2 separate regions of the Homo sapiens genome follow, and region 2 is linked to region 1. The links are contacts of gene promoters, found by promoter capture Hi-C in human tissues and cell types (Jung and others, 2019). All regions are on one chromosome and are shown on one strand. The core of a region is centred on a gene start or on the middle of the fragment in contact, and the rest is flanking DNA. Distances in the headings are between cores, read along the strand shown.

Region 1 (6,860 bases), core at 1,292-3,791:
CATTTTCCTCAATTCCAAGATGCACAAATGATTTGGGGAGGAAAGGAAAATACATCATATTAAAGGGGTAAAGAGGTATACACTTAAGAATCTAAAAACGTGGAAGATACGCAACTTTGAACTGAGGAGCTTCAATACCCTTCTTGCAACAGAAGCACAAAGTGCCTCGGGTTAGAACTGTGGTTTCTCCAAGGCCTGCTACCGGTGTGCAAGCTCACAGTCGCATTTTTCATTTCATAAGCCTAGAGTTAACTTTTTAAATTCGTTTCCCCCCAAACATTCATCCTATTTTAGAATCCTATTTTCCTAAACTGAAAGCAAGCAAACTGGTCTAAAACCTGGAAGTCTTTGTGTTTGTGCCACATTTACAAGCTACAGATAGGTTTTTGAACAAATAACTGAGAAGCTATTGTTTAATATTACTTTATTTAGGTCAAGGATCTCCTCAACATAACTTCGCCATTGTACATAAGTCACCACTGTTACAACCTTCTATCTACTGCCATGGGGCCTCTTTCTCCAAGAGGCAGTTCACCTTTATTATCTACTTTCTAGGGCTTTTTTTCTTTTTTTTGCCCCCCTTCCCTCATGCGAAGATTTCAAGGAAGGTTATTTATTATTTTAACCAAATTACGCTCTGTTGATCTGAACTAGAGTGAAAAATGGGTGCTCCACATCCAAAGGCTATGTTATTACAGGACATAAAAAAAAATGGTAAAAGAAATACACTTAATACTTGCAGCCATGTTAACCAAGATACTTGGCAACTATGGCAAAAACAAAGGGGAGGGCAAGTCTTCATTTCAAAGGTTTCAAAGGGTTACAGAATGAGCAAATATTATTGCCTACAGGTTGCCTCTTTCAGTGTCACCTGCTACCTCCCCAAGACAAGGAAAGTAAACAAAAGGAATTTCAGTAACGAATTTCCCAGGTTCCACATTCCCTAAAACACGTAAGTTGAAGGGAGGGCTTAAACAACTTCCACCTAATTAAAAATCTTCCCTTTTAATAATGCTTTGTTTTCACTGCTCCTATCCTTTCGGAGTTACATATGCTGGTAAGCAAGGAGGAGGGCCAAAAGGGATATTCAAGAGGCTGAACAGATACTATCTTAACTTCTTCCAAATCCATGAAGAACAAGCTGGGGGACACAATGGCATGCCTGGCCAGGCTGTCTGGACCTCATAGAGAGGCACTGGCGTCCCTTCCCAGTTAACAATATGCAAAGCACACTTCCTAACAATCTCCCGACGCTCCGTGATTGTTAGTTTATCAATTGAGCTTAAGTTCAACCAAACTTGGTAATACTCCTCGCAATTGACCTGGAGCCTAATTTCAAACGTAAAAATGCGTCCACTCCTCTAGCGCTGTAGGAAGCTGTGCTTACAAAGTTCGGACGTGGTACAATGATTTTTGTTTTATTACACCTGGTGGAGAAAAAAAAACATAACACCAAACTACGTTACCGAATTCCGAATTCACGGGAGAATGGGGATTTCGGCGACGACTTGAGGAGTACATGACCCAGGACAGAGGACGAAGTGAGCTGCCTCCGGGCCGCGGGCCCCTGTCCTTGGCCACGCCGTCACCTGAAAGGGGCCGCTGGTTCGCTTAGCATCCCTCCAAACCTGAAATCCCCTACCTCAAGATCAATCAAAAGCAGGGGGAAGAAAGTGTCTTCTGGAGGCGCAAGAAAGGCCACAACTTGGATGAATGAAACTGGGCTAAGGGCACCCGGAGCGGGATTTTCGCTGAAGTCAGAAAAAGAAAAGTCAAAAGATTTTTTTTTAACATGAGAGCGATTGCAAGAGACTGGAATACAGACAACGGCACAAACAAGCTTTGGAGGAACGCTTTATTGGGCGCGGACGTTCCGGGCGGCCGGCGGGCGCTAGAGCGGAGGCGGTCGGCGGCAGCCGGCGGGCGGCGGAGCGGGACGGACCAGGCGGCGGCGGCGGGGCCGGCGACGAGGCAGCTTCACGACTGGCGGGGACGGGCCGGAGTCGGGCTGGGCGCCCGCGCGTGTCCTCCCGCGGACCTTCCACTGGACTCCCGCGGGCCGGCGCCGGGATCGGGGTCGGGGCCCGCTCGGTCCGCCCCGCCCCCCGCCCGGCGGGCCGCTTGCGAGGCACACCCTCCCGGACCGCGCACACGCGCAGGCACACCCCCGCCTCCCGCGCGCACGCGGCCGGGCCCGGCCGGCCCACGCGCGCCCCCTTCCCGCGGACGCCCGCCGCCCGCCCGCCGCCCCGGCCTCCTCCGAGGAGTGCAGGAAGGCCCGGGGTCCCGCGGCCAGGGCGCGCGGGGGACGGCGGCCTAGCGGCAGCGGGGGCGCCCGCGCGGGAAGACCGGCTCTGAGGGAAGGTCACTTACCCGCTGCATGGCTTTCAGGATTAAAGCCAGCTCGTAGCGGGGCATGCCTGGAGGATCGGCGAGTGCGGCTCGGAAGCCAGCCGGTTCCCGGGACGCGAAGGGGCGGGACGGCGGGGACAGTGGGGACCTAGAAACTGCTGCGCCGGACGGCTCCCAGGCGGCGAAAGCACGGTCCGAGAGCGCGAGCCCGGGCTTAAAGGCGCTGGCAGCTGCGCAGACGCCGCGCCACGCCCCCTCGGCGCGCCCCGCCCCGCCCGCGCGCCTTGCCGCCGCCCCGCCCCCTCTCCGCCCGCGGGCGGCCGCCACGCCCCCTCCGCAGCCCCGCACCCGCCGCACCGCCCCCGCCCCGACCCCAGCCCAGCCCGCCGGCCGCGGCTAGGGGCGGTGCTGCAGACGCGGCCCAGAGCGGCTCGCGGCGGCCGCACGCCCCCTCGCGACCCTGCCTGCCCCTACCCCGCCTCCTGCCATGCCTGCTACCTAGCTCTCGAACCGGCTGGAACTTTCCATGCCTTCCTTCTCCTCCCGGGCGGCGGGCGAGTGAGTGCCCGCCAGTGCGCGTGCGCTGCGGTGCGGTCTCGTCCGTGCGCGTGCCCCTCGCCCGCGACTCCCCGGAGCTAGGGACCTTCGCGGCGCAAGGCGGGGTCGCGGCCGGCCCGGGGGCTGTGCGGCCAACGGCTGCTCGCAGGGGTTCTGGAACATTCCCGCCCGGGGTCGGTAGGGGGGTGCAGCTCTCGCCCCCAGCCACAACTCTCAGGTCTGACGCGGCTGACCAGGCCCCCTACCCGGCGAGGAGCGCGCTGGCACAGGCCGTGGGCCGCGGCGCGCGGGCTCGGGTCTGACTCAGTCCCTTGGCACTGCGTGACCTTGGGCCTGCTGCCTGTGCCGAAAGTGGGGACCCGAGTGAGTTACTGCACGTTAACCTCCGAGGACGGTGCCTGGTACACACAGGCGCGATACGGGCATTTGTGGTGTGCCCCTGACCTGCCCCCACGTGTTTCAGCGGAGGGCAGGCGAACACCTTAACTCTATCTCATTTCTTTAAATGTTTCCTCCGCTTTCACTTAAAGGCTAGGCTGAGTGCCTGGGAGACCCTTTAGCAACTGTCTAAGGTGGGCAGGGGCATACGTTCTGCCCTTGCCATCCCTTTACACCCACATGGTTCTCCGCCCTCCAGCCAGGGGCTCTGCAAGTGCAGTTTTCTCCAGCGCCCTTCCTTAGAGGTTGAGTACCCTGCAGCTGAGGCCTCTGCCCCTTGTTTGCCCCATTAAAAGCTCTGTACGTGGAGTGTTTGTCAACTTAAAGTGCTTTAACGTTAATAGGTAAAGTTTAGTGAACACTTACTCTGCATCAGGCCCCATGCCAAGGCTGGTGGATGTGTCTCCTAAAATTCTCACAACAGCCCTGAGGTGACAAAGATTCTTTGCTTGGCCAAACTTTAGTCAGGCTTCTGAATCTCATGCTAGGCCCATCTGTGCACTTCCTTGTAAAATCCAGTTCTAGCACAGAACCCCCATCCCCTCATAGCAGATCAGGTTCCTCATCTTCCTCTATCCCCCAGTCATGTCTTTTCACCCTGGCCTGAGTTCTACAAGAATCCTTTAGATCGGTTGAGCCAGAATCCCTCTTCCCCCGATGGTTACTCTTAGTGATTTTACATGGCCATAAATTTCTACTTGCCGACGCTGCATTCAGAATTGGAGCCCACTCTCTCTCCCCGGGTTTCCCTGATCCCTGTACCCATCGCGTTGGTCCTGAATAAAGTCTTTCTTACCATGCTTTAGTAAGCATCACTGAGTAATTTTTTTAAACAGAGGCAAGCACTGTTAACCCCATATTAGGGATTAGGAAATGTAGGCACAAAAAGTTTTGTAACTAGTCCAAGGTCATACAGTAATAGAAACAAAGTACTTTTAGCCGCCCCTCTACCCTTCTGACCTCCGGTTCTCCTACCACACAGATGAAGATGCTGATTGTTATTCAGTGGATTAACCGTGTAGTCCACGTAAGCCAAGATTAGAGTACCTTTGTCACCTTACCCAGAGGTTACCATTTCACATCCCATGCGTCTATTTGTGACATATGGGAGGTAGGAGATGGAGATGAACCCAAGTTTTTCTGAGATAGCTGGATTTTAACATTTTCTATTTTTAGACTTGTCTACAACCCATACCTGTGTGAAGCCACACAGGTAATCCAAATTGCCTGGCTAAGTGTCAATTAACTTCATGTTTGGTTTAAATAAGTAGCGTACTATAAATAACAGAAGGAAACAAGGAATTTCTGGACCTTCAGAAGTGAGTTACAGGCTGGGTGCAGTGGCCCACGCCCGTAATCCCAATACTTTGGGAGGCTGAGGCGGGTGGATCACCTAAGGTCAGGAGTTTGAGACCAGCCTGGGCAACATCGTGAAATCCTGTCTCTAATAAAAATACAAAAATCAGCTGGGTGCGGTGGCACTTGCCTGTAGTCCCGGCTACTCGGGAGGCTGAGGCAGAAGAATCGCTTGAACCCAGGAGGCGGAGGTTGCAGTGAGCCGAAATCGCGCCACTGCACTCCAGCCTGGACGACAGAGCGAGACTCCATTAAAAAAAAAAAAGTCAGTTACAGATTTTCTAGAATGGTCCCACCCCGACTGTCCCCTGTCTTGTCAATTACATGACCCAGTTTAGTAATGAGAAAATAAAGACCCCGTAGTAATATGCCAAGTCAAACACTGAGGCGGCGCAATGAGCTGACTTCAACTCAGAGCATTTCCTCTTGGAAGCTCTTTAGTTTTCCCTTAATGCCCAGGGATGAGTGAAGACCTGGCATCTTCTCTACTCCTTCTAACTTGACAAGTGGTATAAGGAAATTAACCTGACTGCGTAATACCTCACCACAGAGTCAGCATCCCCAAGCCCTCCCAGTCTGGTAGCCACCCACAGACTCATTCCATTTCTTAAAAGCAGAGAGAGGGCAGCTACTGTGATTTTCCCCCTTCAACCTTTTTTTAACAAGCACAGAAGCGGCCGGGTACGGTGGCTCACGCCTATGATCCCAGCACTTTGGGAGGCCAAGGCGGGCGGATCACCTGAGGTCGGGAGTTTGAGACCAGCCTGACCAACATGGAGAAACCCCGTCTTTACTAAAAATACAAAATTAGCCGGGCATGATGGCACGTGCCTGTAATCCCAGCTACTTGGGAGGCTGAGACAGGAGAATCGCTTGAACCTGGGAGGCAGAGGTTGCAGTGAGCCAAGATCGTGCCATTGCACTGCAGCCTGGGTAACAAGAGCAAAACTACATCTCAAAAAACTAAATAAAAAATAAAAAAGCACAGAAGCAGAATGCTTGTGGCTTCATTTAAAAAAAAAAAGATTTTTTTTAAATCACGAGGAATGCTGTTGCAAATTTAGTGTCTTCCTACTATAACTACAAACTTAAATTCACCAAAACAATTTTTAACTTTATACTATGTATAGTCAGCATAATAGAAATATATTACTGCAGCATTTGATATATTAATTTAAAAATGACTCTCTTAGATTCTCCAAAACATTTATTATGGTATGTGTTTAAGATTTGATTAACCAGAAGTTTGATTAATTTTCAAGTAAGTTTTTTTGAGGGGGAATAGGAAAGAAGAATAAGAACAGAAGTTGAAATCCAGCCCTATTTGTAAAAAAGGAACCTCAAGATATGCCCTGGGTCAGTTTAATCACCTTTACCTTCTTCTTTTATGTTGCTGTATAATGAGACTTGACCTTGAGCTTTCAATCGTTAATCCTCAAAGATGGCCATTATTTTTATTACTGAGTCTAACATTTTGAGCATTAACTATGAACCAGAACCTATTTTAAATTATTTGCATGTATTAACTCTCAGTTCTTACCACAAAGATATGTATTATAACTGCCCCCATTTTACATATAGGGAAAAGGAGACTTCATAAACATCTCAGCAACTTGCCCCAAATTATGCAGAACTCAGAGCCTGCACGCTTAACCCCAATACCATACAGCATTATGTTTACCAGCCAGCGCAAACTGAGCAACTATCTGTCGATCAACCAACTTTTATTGTAGTCCTACTCTGTCCTCTTCCCTGGGTGATGGCAGTCTCCCACTCCTTGCACCCATATAATGCCCTCCCTTAAGTGGCCAAATTCTCCCCTTGCACAGACTTCTTCCTGCTGCCATGAAGCATATATAGGTCTCTTCTAGCTAGGGGGAAGAAAAACCTCGTCATAACCCTGTTACCCTCTCAAGTTGTCATTCTTTTCTTCTTCTCACAGCCACATATCCCCAGACCCACTGCATCTTCCAGCCTTTGCACTCTGTGTTCCCTCACACTGTCACCACTGGCCTTCCATTTGTCCACCAAGTAGTTTCCCTGGCATCATCGTCAGGGACCTCTCTGCAGTCCTGAGGGTCTCTTCTTGGCCATCCATGATCCTGTACTCTTGGGGTTTTCCTTTGTCTCCTTGGTCCCTGTGTCTGGCTCCTTTT
Region 2 (6,860 bases), core at 2,143-4,642, 260 kb before region 1:
TAGATCTCAGCCTCGAAAAGAATTCAAGGAACCTCAGGCCCATTCCACATGCTCCACCTCAACTATGCGCTAAGGAATGGTGTTGTGTTTGGCATGGTTCCCCATCAGCTCCGATCTGGCCCTGGTGCACAGTGGGCGCGAACGGGTCTCTCATTATAACTCTGGAGTTTAGGTTCTAGGCTGAAGGAAATTAACTGAACCATTCAATACTTTTGACCTATAGGGAAGACTGATTAGTTAGTATGGGATGGAAGGAAGGGGTGCAGGAAGGAGAGAGACATGCTCTGTCCTCCTGGCCTCATGTGGGTGCTCTTACCTTTAAACCTCCCCTGCCCCAGGCCTGGCTTCTGAGAGGGGATCTAATGAGACTTAATGACCGCCTTAGTCCCATTTTTCTCCTTAGTTCATCCTACTTGCTGTCTGAAAGGGACTGAATTGTATCCCTGAACCCCACCCCTCCCAATTTATATGTTGAAGCTCTAACCCCAAGTAACTCAGCATGTGACTATATTTAGAGAAAAGGCCTTTAAAGATGTGATTAAGTTAAAATGAGGTCTTTAGGGTAGGCCCTAATCCAATCTGACTGGTGTCCTTATAAGAGGAAAATTGGACACACAGAGACACACCTGGGATACACACAGACGGCCACCTACCAGCCAAGGTGAGAGGCCTCAGGGGAAACCAGTCCTCCTTTCAACAGGTGACCCTGGACTTCTAGCCTCCAAGACTATTAGGCAATCAGTGCCTGATCAGTGCCTGTTGTTGAAGCCACTCGGTCTGTGATACTTTGTTATGGCAGCCGGAGCAGACCAAGACACTGCGTAAGATCAGAGATTCTGACTCTCTCCGAGCTTTAGTTTCCTGGTCTATAAAATAGGAATATCATCTGTAATTCACAGGCTCTTGTAACGGTTAAGTGTGACAGGGCACATGGCACAGGATCTGTGCACAGAGCAGGTACAGGCTAAATAATTATGATGATTAAAATTGTCGTTACTGCTATTAGAGACCAAGGATGTTCATACATTACTTACAGATCTGTACCAAATGCCATCCCTAAAGTCTCTCCATTGATTCAATGAATAAGTACCAAAGAATTTAGTGTTTTGGATAGCCCTGGAGATTCTACACTCTCTCTGGGCCACTGTGTCACACAACTCTGGAGGGCACTCTCAGAGGTGTGTTGCCCCTAAACCAATTCCCTCTTCATGACTTTACATCCTCACCAATTTTAAAGCATGATTGCTCTCAATTGGTCATTGTCAGCTTCCAATGGCCGGCCACTCCGCTCCTCATCTGCAAGGCCCTCGTCTCCTTGGCAAAACTTCTTGAACCACCACTGCTCTGTACATTCCTTGGCAGTTCCTGGGCCAAAAGCATTGCTGATGTTTCCAGTTTTCTCCACTGCTTTATGACCCGTTTTGAACTCAAATAAGAAAATCACTCAAATTTGCTTTTTGTCTAACATCATTTCCATAGTCTAAAATAAACATAAACAGCAAGTAACGTCATTAGCAAAAAAAAAAGTGAGAAATGCCCATTAAAATGATGTATAACATAATTACATTTATTTAAGAATATGTTCCAATGTTAAACAGCAAGTTCCAATAATGCAAAAACGGCAATTCCTTTTGCAGTCACCTAATAGCTTCCAAGAAGCAGAAGAAAGAAGCAGTGATCCAGGTTGATTGCCCCGGTCCAGTCCTGGCCCCCACACTTATTCTCTATGTGGTTTTGGGCAACTTACTGAACCTTTCTGTGCCTCGGATGCCGCATCTACAAAATGGAGATGATAATGGTACCTTCCTGCTACAGAGCTTCTGAGGATGAAGTGGGATCTTGTAAGCACAGAACAAGCATTGCCATCATTGTTTGCACTCATGTGGTCCCAAGGAAATATCCTTTCTCTTAGAGGTAACATTTTAGTATGAGGCTCTTAAAAGTGGAAATCACTAGTTTAAGAGCCAAAGAAGTATATCTCTAACAGTGGAATCACAGGCACTGTGGAAGGCCAAGGGTCCTTCCTTGCGTCCTCCAAATCATATCCCCCAGGCAGCTGCCCACATGTGCTGGCCACACTGAGGAGCCCAAGGAACAGCCTCATGAGCTGGTTTTCGCAAAGTGGCCAGTCACCTCTCACCAACACTGAACTCAAGGTTTTAATTCATTAGATATGCAGTGGGGGTTCCTATGCTGTTTAAATCAGCTCAGTGAAAGACTTACCTTTGCAATGGAGACCATCATCTCAGAAATGCAACAAAAGAGAGGCTGGGTCCCTGGCCTCAGGCCTACAGAATGAGAGGGGAATTGCGTGGTGGGAGAATGAACAGCTCTGGGGGTTTTGCCGTGCACAGTTGGAGCTGTTACCAGCCCAGATCACGACGCCTTGTTTATTGATTTCACAGGCTCACAGACCATAATATGATGAATATCACTTTTCCACTGGGGCGAAAGTCACACAGCCAAAGAAGCGAGGCCATCATCCAGAAAACAGAAATGTTTTTGTCTGAGTGTGCCATTGGAGACACTGAAAAACAAGCTCTTCAGGTAATTACCGAACTTCAGCAAAGTGAGGCTCTTGGGTGAATTATCTGCATAATTGCCTTCGCTCTCCAGTTAGTCCATGAAGACGTGATCTCGGCAAATCACCCACTCACCTAAGCCAGTACATTTGAAGTTGGGCAACAATAGTAATGATGATGCCGATTTAAGAAACGAAGAACCAGGCTCTGCTGAGCAGCAGAGGCTGCCGCAACTGCTTGATGTTTACGGACTTGTATTTAAGGACAATTCCTTTGGCAGTGGGTTTGATGAATGTTTTTTATGCTATGTCTACAATAATGCTGGAAGTTGTAATTCTCACCTTGAGGATTGTCTTGTTCCCCCAGCCAAGCTTGTCATCTTAGATGCCTTTCCATGGTCTCCTGTACCCTCACTCCTGGGGGTGTCCGCAGCAGGCCTGTTCCTGAGGCAAGCCTTCTGGGCTGTTTTGACCAAACTGGACGCCATCTTGTAAAATCGGCACGCTTGCATGGAGACACCCTTCCTGTCCCTGCCCTCTGCTGGCCAGTCAGAGTTAAACTCCTTGGGCGTCCAGAGCACTCGAGCACCTCTCTGCCTCTCCTAAACCCCTCACCACCATCAGGATCCCAATAGGAAACATGTGGCATGGCAAAACGAGATCACTCAATGATGGAATAATTACAAAAATAGGAGGGAGTGTAGCGAAGCCTCCTGGGGTGGTGCAGGATACCAGGGTTAGTAGTGTTGGCGCTGTTATGAATCCATACAGAAGAGACAAGGAATGTGAAATACCCAAACATGGTATGGGAGGGTCACGCACAGCAGGCCACCTTGAGAGGAGCAGTGAGGGACACAGCTGGCCTAAACCACTTTGCGGGAAGGGACCAGCCCTTGACACCTCCTGCCTGCCTCTGATCTCACGTTGGGCACCCCACTAGCTGAACCCAACCAGAAGGCAGAGTCTCCATGATCCCATACATGCACCTACACAGGGCAGGCTCCCAGGGCAGAGAACAGGGGCACCAAGCAGATGTAGGAGGGTAGAGAGAAGATATGCGGCAAGCATAGAAATCAAAATTCAACTGTGAAAAGGATCCCAGCTGAGAAGTTCAGAGTTAAATTTCCTTGGATGTTGTAGCCAGTACACCCTACATCCTAAGAAGAGCCAATTGATATAAAACCTAGAGCTTGCTTCCTTGACTAGGCTGAGATCATGCTTTTACTTTGGGTCTGATAAATTATCATAACCCTAGTGATACAGTTTGGATTTGTGTTCCCACCCAAATCTCATGTCAAATTGTAATCCCTGATATTGGAGGAGGGGCCTGGTGGGAGGTGATGGGATCATGGGAGTGGAGTTCCCCCTTGCTGTTCTTGTGATAATGAGTGAGTTCTCACAAGATCTGGTTGTTTAAAAGTGTGTGGCACCACCCCCTTTGCCCTCTTCCTCCTGCGCCAGCCATGTAAGATGTGCCTGCTTCCCCTTCACCTTCTACCATGATTGTAAGTATCCTGAGGCCTCCCAGCCATGCTTCCTGTACAGCCTGCAGAAATGTGAGCCAATTAAACGTCTTTTCTTTATAAATTACCCAGTCTTAGGTAGTTCTTTATGACAATGCAAGAACAGACTAATACACCTAGGAAGGTATAGAAATTTTTGTCTTATATAGTCACTGCAAGTTCAGGATGAGAAAAGCATAAAAATTAGTAAAAATATAATGAAAAAAATCAGGACCAAATACTAGTAACTTTATAATTGTTTTACATGTAACTGTAATGAAGTTTCATTATCATTGTGATAATATCCAAATGGTTTGAAGCATGTAAATGAATCCAATATATTAGACTTGTGAGTTGAATTGAGTGATTAGAAAAATTTTATTAAAGAAGTTTGTAATTAATGTTTAAATACTGAGGAATTTTTAAATTTGTAAATTCATAAGTTTTATTAGTTGGGTGTGTTTAAATTTTTAGAACAATATTTAATAGGCTTATGGGATTAATAAGTTATGCATTAAATTAAGTAGACATAGTATGAGTATTGGTCAAAGCCCTTGGATGTCCACAAGGGTGTGTTGATGTTACTATGGACCTAATGACATAGGGTCCAACCCAAGCATCATCATGTCTGTGAAGATTTCATTGTTCCCTGTGGGGATTTCTCATCTCTCAATTCTTTAGCTGCTTAGACCCTTTTGGGGGGTTCCTGCTGCAAAAGCAAGTTTTTGCTGTTTGTTATTTGGGGTGTTTATACCTTGAATCCCAAGGCTGTTAAGTCTTTGGGAGACAAGCACGCCCCCTGAAACAGTCTTCACTTCTTTTCCATTTTCCATTTCTCCAGGCTCAATATTAGACACATATTATCTCCAGGCTCAATATTAGACACATATTAAGGACTCGTGTATGACACAAGCCCGTCTTTTGAGGAGCCTTCAACCCTGTTAACAGAATTCATCAATGTTTTAAAAAGCTTGTTTTTAAAAGTTTGATGCATTCCTACTCTGTGTCCAATGCTACAACAGGCCATGGGGACACAGCAGTGAAGGAAACAAGGTCTCTGCCCCTTAGCAGGTCACAGCCTACGCAATATCTCACAGAACTACAATTCTGAGCAACTTGTCCTTAGTGAGATGTGCACGCATGACAGTAAGTGCCACAGGACTTGAGAAGGAAGCCATTACTGAGTGACAGTGGCAGAGTGGCAGGGTAGACCTTAGGGAGTCAAGAGGGTGGAGGTGGAGGATGTATTCTTATTCCACATAATAAGAGAGGTAGACATTGATTTCTGTTCTGGCTATGTCATGTGTGAGCCACCATCTATTAGGGATACTGCTGAGAATAGAACCCTACAGAGGTGATGTGGGGAGACCAGAGCAGAGTGAAGACACTCTTGGAATTTCAGAGTGTCACCGGTTGAGGATAGATTCATGAGTCACATCAAAATAATATTAAGTATTAAAAGTAGTATTTTAAATTCTAGACATTAATTCTAGACATTCCTTTCTGCTCACCAACTTCTCCCATTCTATAAATGAGGGCATTGCAAAGTTAGGACTTTTCTATCTGATACAGCCAAGGTTGGGGTGATATGGAGATGTACAAAGGGGAGGGTGGAGAGCAGCAATAGGAAGGACAGAAGTGCCGGAAGAGTGTGGGGAATCTTTCTTAGGAAAAACTACTTCTGAGGATTCCTGAAAGGGCTCAAGCCTTGGAGGGTGTCTCTACGCTCTATGCCAGCCATGAGTACTAGAGAAGCAAAAACTGGGGGTTACATGTCCAGGAGGACAATTCAATAATGTTTCAACTTCCCTGCATGCACATCAGTGCTGAGAGTAGCCAGATGTCTCCCAGGTGCCCAAAGTTGCACAGAAGCAATAGAGAGCGTGCCAGCTCTTAGAAGCTTTCAGGGCCCCGGGAGGATGCTGCGTTGACATACATTGCTGAGGACAGGGACCTGACAAGAATGACAGAAGCCTCAGGGTGCACCAGGGTGCATGGAAGACAATGAATGGTAACCTGGTGCCAGCCTCCTGCTCCCCAACCCCCAGAAATCATCAGCATTCCAGGGGAAGGGAGAACAGGGCAGGGAGGAAGAATCTGAGATGACTCTGGGTTCACCAACATTTTAGTTTTCACCATGTAGCACAGTAAGAGCTTGTAACAGAATGTAAAATTGGTTATTTTAAAAATTAAAATAATGAACATTTCTGAGTTCATGACCTGAGATTTGTGCCACATATTTAAGACTAAAAGGAAAAAGTAGAGACATTGAAACAGACATAAGAAGGTAAGACAAAAGCCAGGAGAGGGATATGGATGTCACAGAAGTCAGAGGAGGAAAGAAACTCCTGAAGCATGGGTGGCGGTCTGGGATGCCAAATGCCACAGGACCAGGGATGAGCCACAGTGTCTATGTCGTGAGAAATGAGGCAGTGGGCTTTCAAGGGACAGAGGCCATAAATACTAACAGTCAATGCTTCTCTAGACTCTACCAGCTGCCTCTGTCTGCAACTTGTCATGCATCTTGAACTTGAGGAGATATGGGGGCATGCACTTTTTTTTCAGGGAATCTGCCACTCTTGCTCACAGACCATTTAGCCCTTTTTCGAGCCTGATACAGGCTCATGATCAGCAAATGTGACCAGACACAGAACATACATTTATAAGCATCGATGAAGAGGATTCAGCCCAGTTTCATGGTCCTAGAGAACTTCTAGTCATCATGATCCATCAAGACCAGTATGGGAAGCTGCCTAAATGCAATGCTTTAAAGTGGAAGGTGCAAAGGGAGGTCAAGTAAGCCTAGGACAGTCATTAACTGATCCTGCACTGTGACC

Evidence for each region. Contacts are between HindIII fragments. The study calls those that stand out against the background at their distance.
Region 2: a fragment that was not itself captured here is called in contact with the fragment with the promoter of MRPS6 in region 1 in 6 of the 25 tissues and cell types used here (IMR-90 fibroblasts, heart left ventricle, lymphoblastoid cells and 3 more).

The regions. Positions count from the first base shown.
Region 1 is chr21:34,069,259-34,076,118 of GRCh38, reverse strand. It overlaps MRPS6 (mitochondrial ribosomal protein S6), which reads right to left and starts at 2,541. Exons shown (of 3, transcript NM_032476.4): 1 at 2,374-2,541. The coding sequence starts at 2,418. SLC5A3 (solute carrier family 5 member 3) reads right to left here and starts at 2,541. Exons shown (of 2, transcript NM_006933.7): 1 at 2,374-2,541. RefSeq lists silencers at 1,884-2,283, 2,574-3,093 and an enhancer at 1,680-2,630. The HindIII fragment of the contact is 15,607 bases long and covers 1-6,860 here.
Region 2 is chr21:34,326,430-34,333,289 of GRCh38, reverse strand. No RefSeq gene overlaps it. Among named protein-coding and RNA genes, the nearest start is that of KCNE2, 34 kb to the left of the region's middle. The HindIII fragment of the contact is 4,133 bases long and covers 1,326-5,458 here.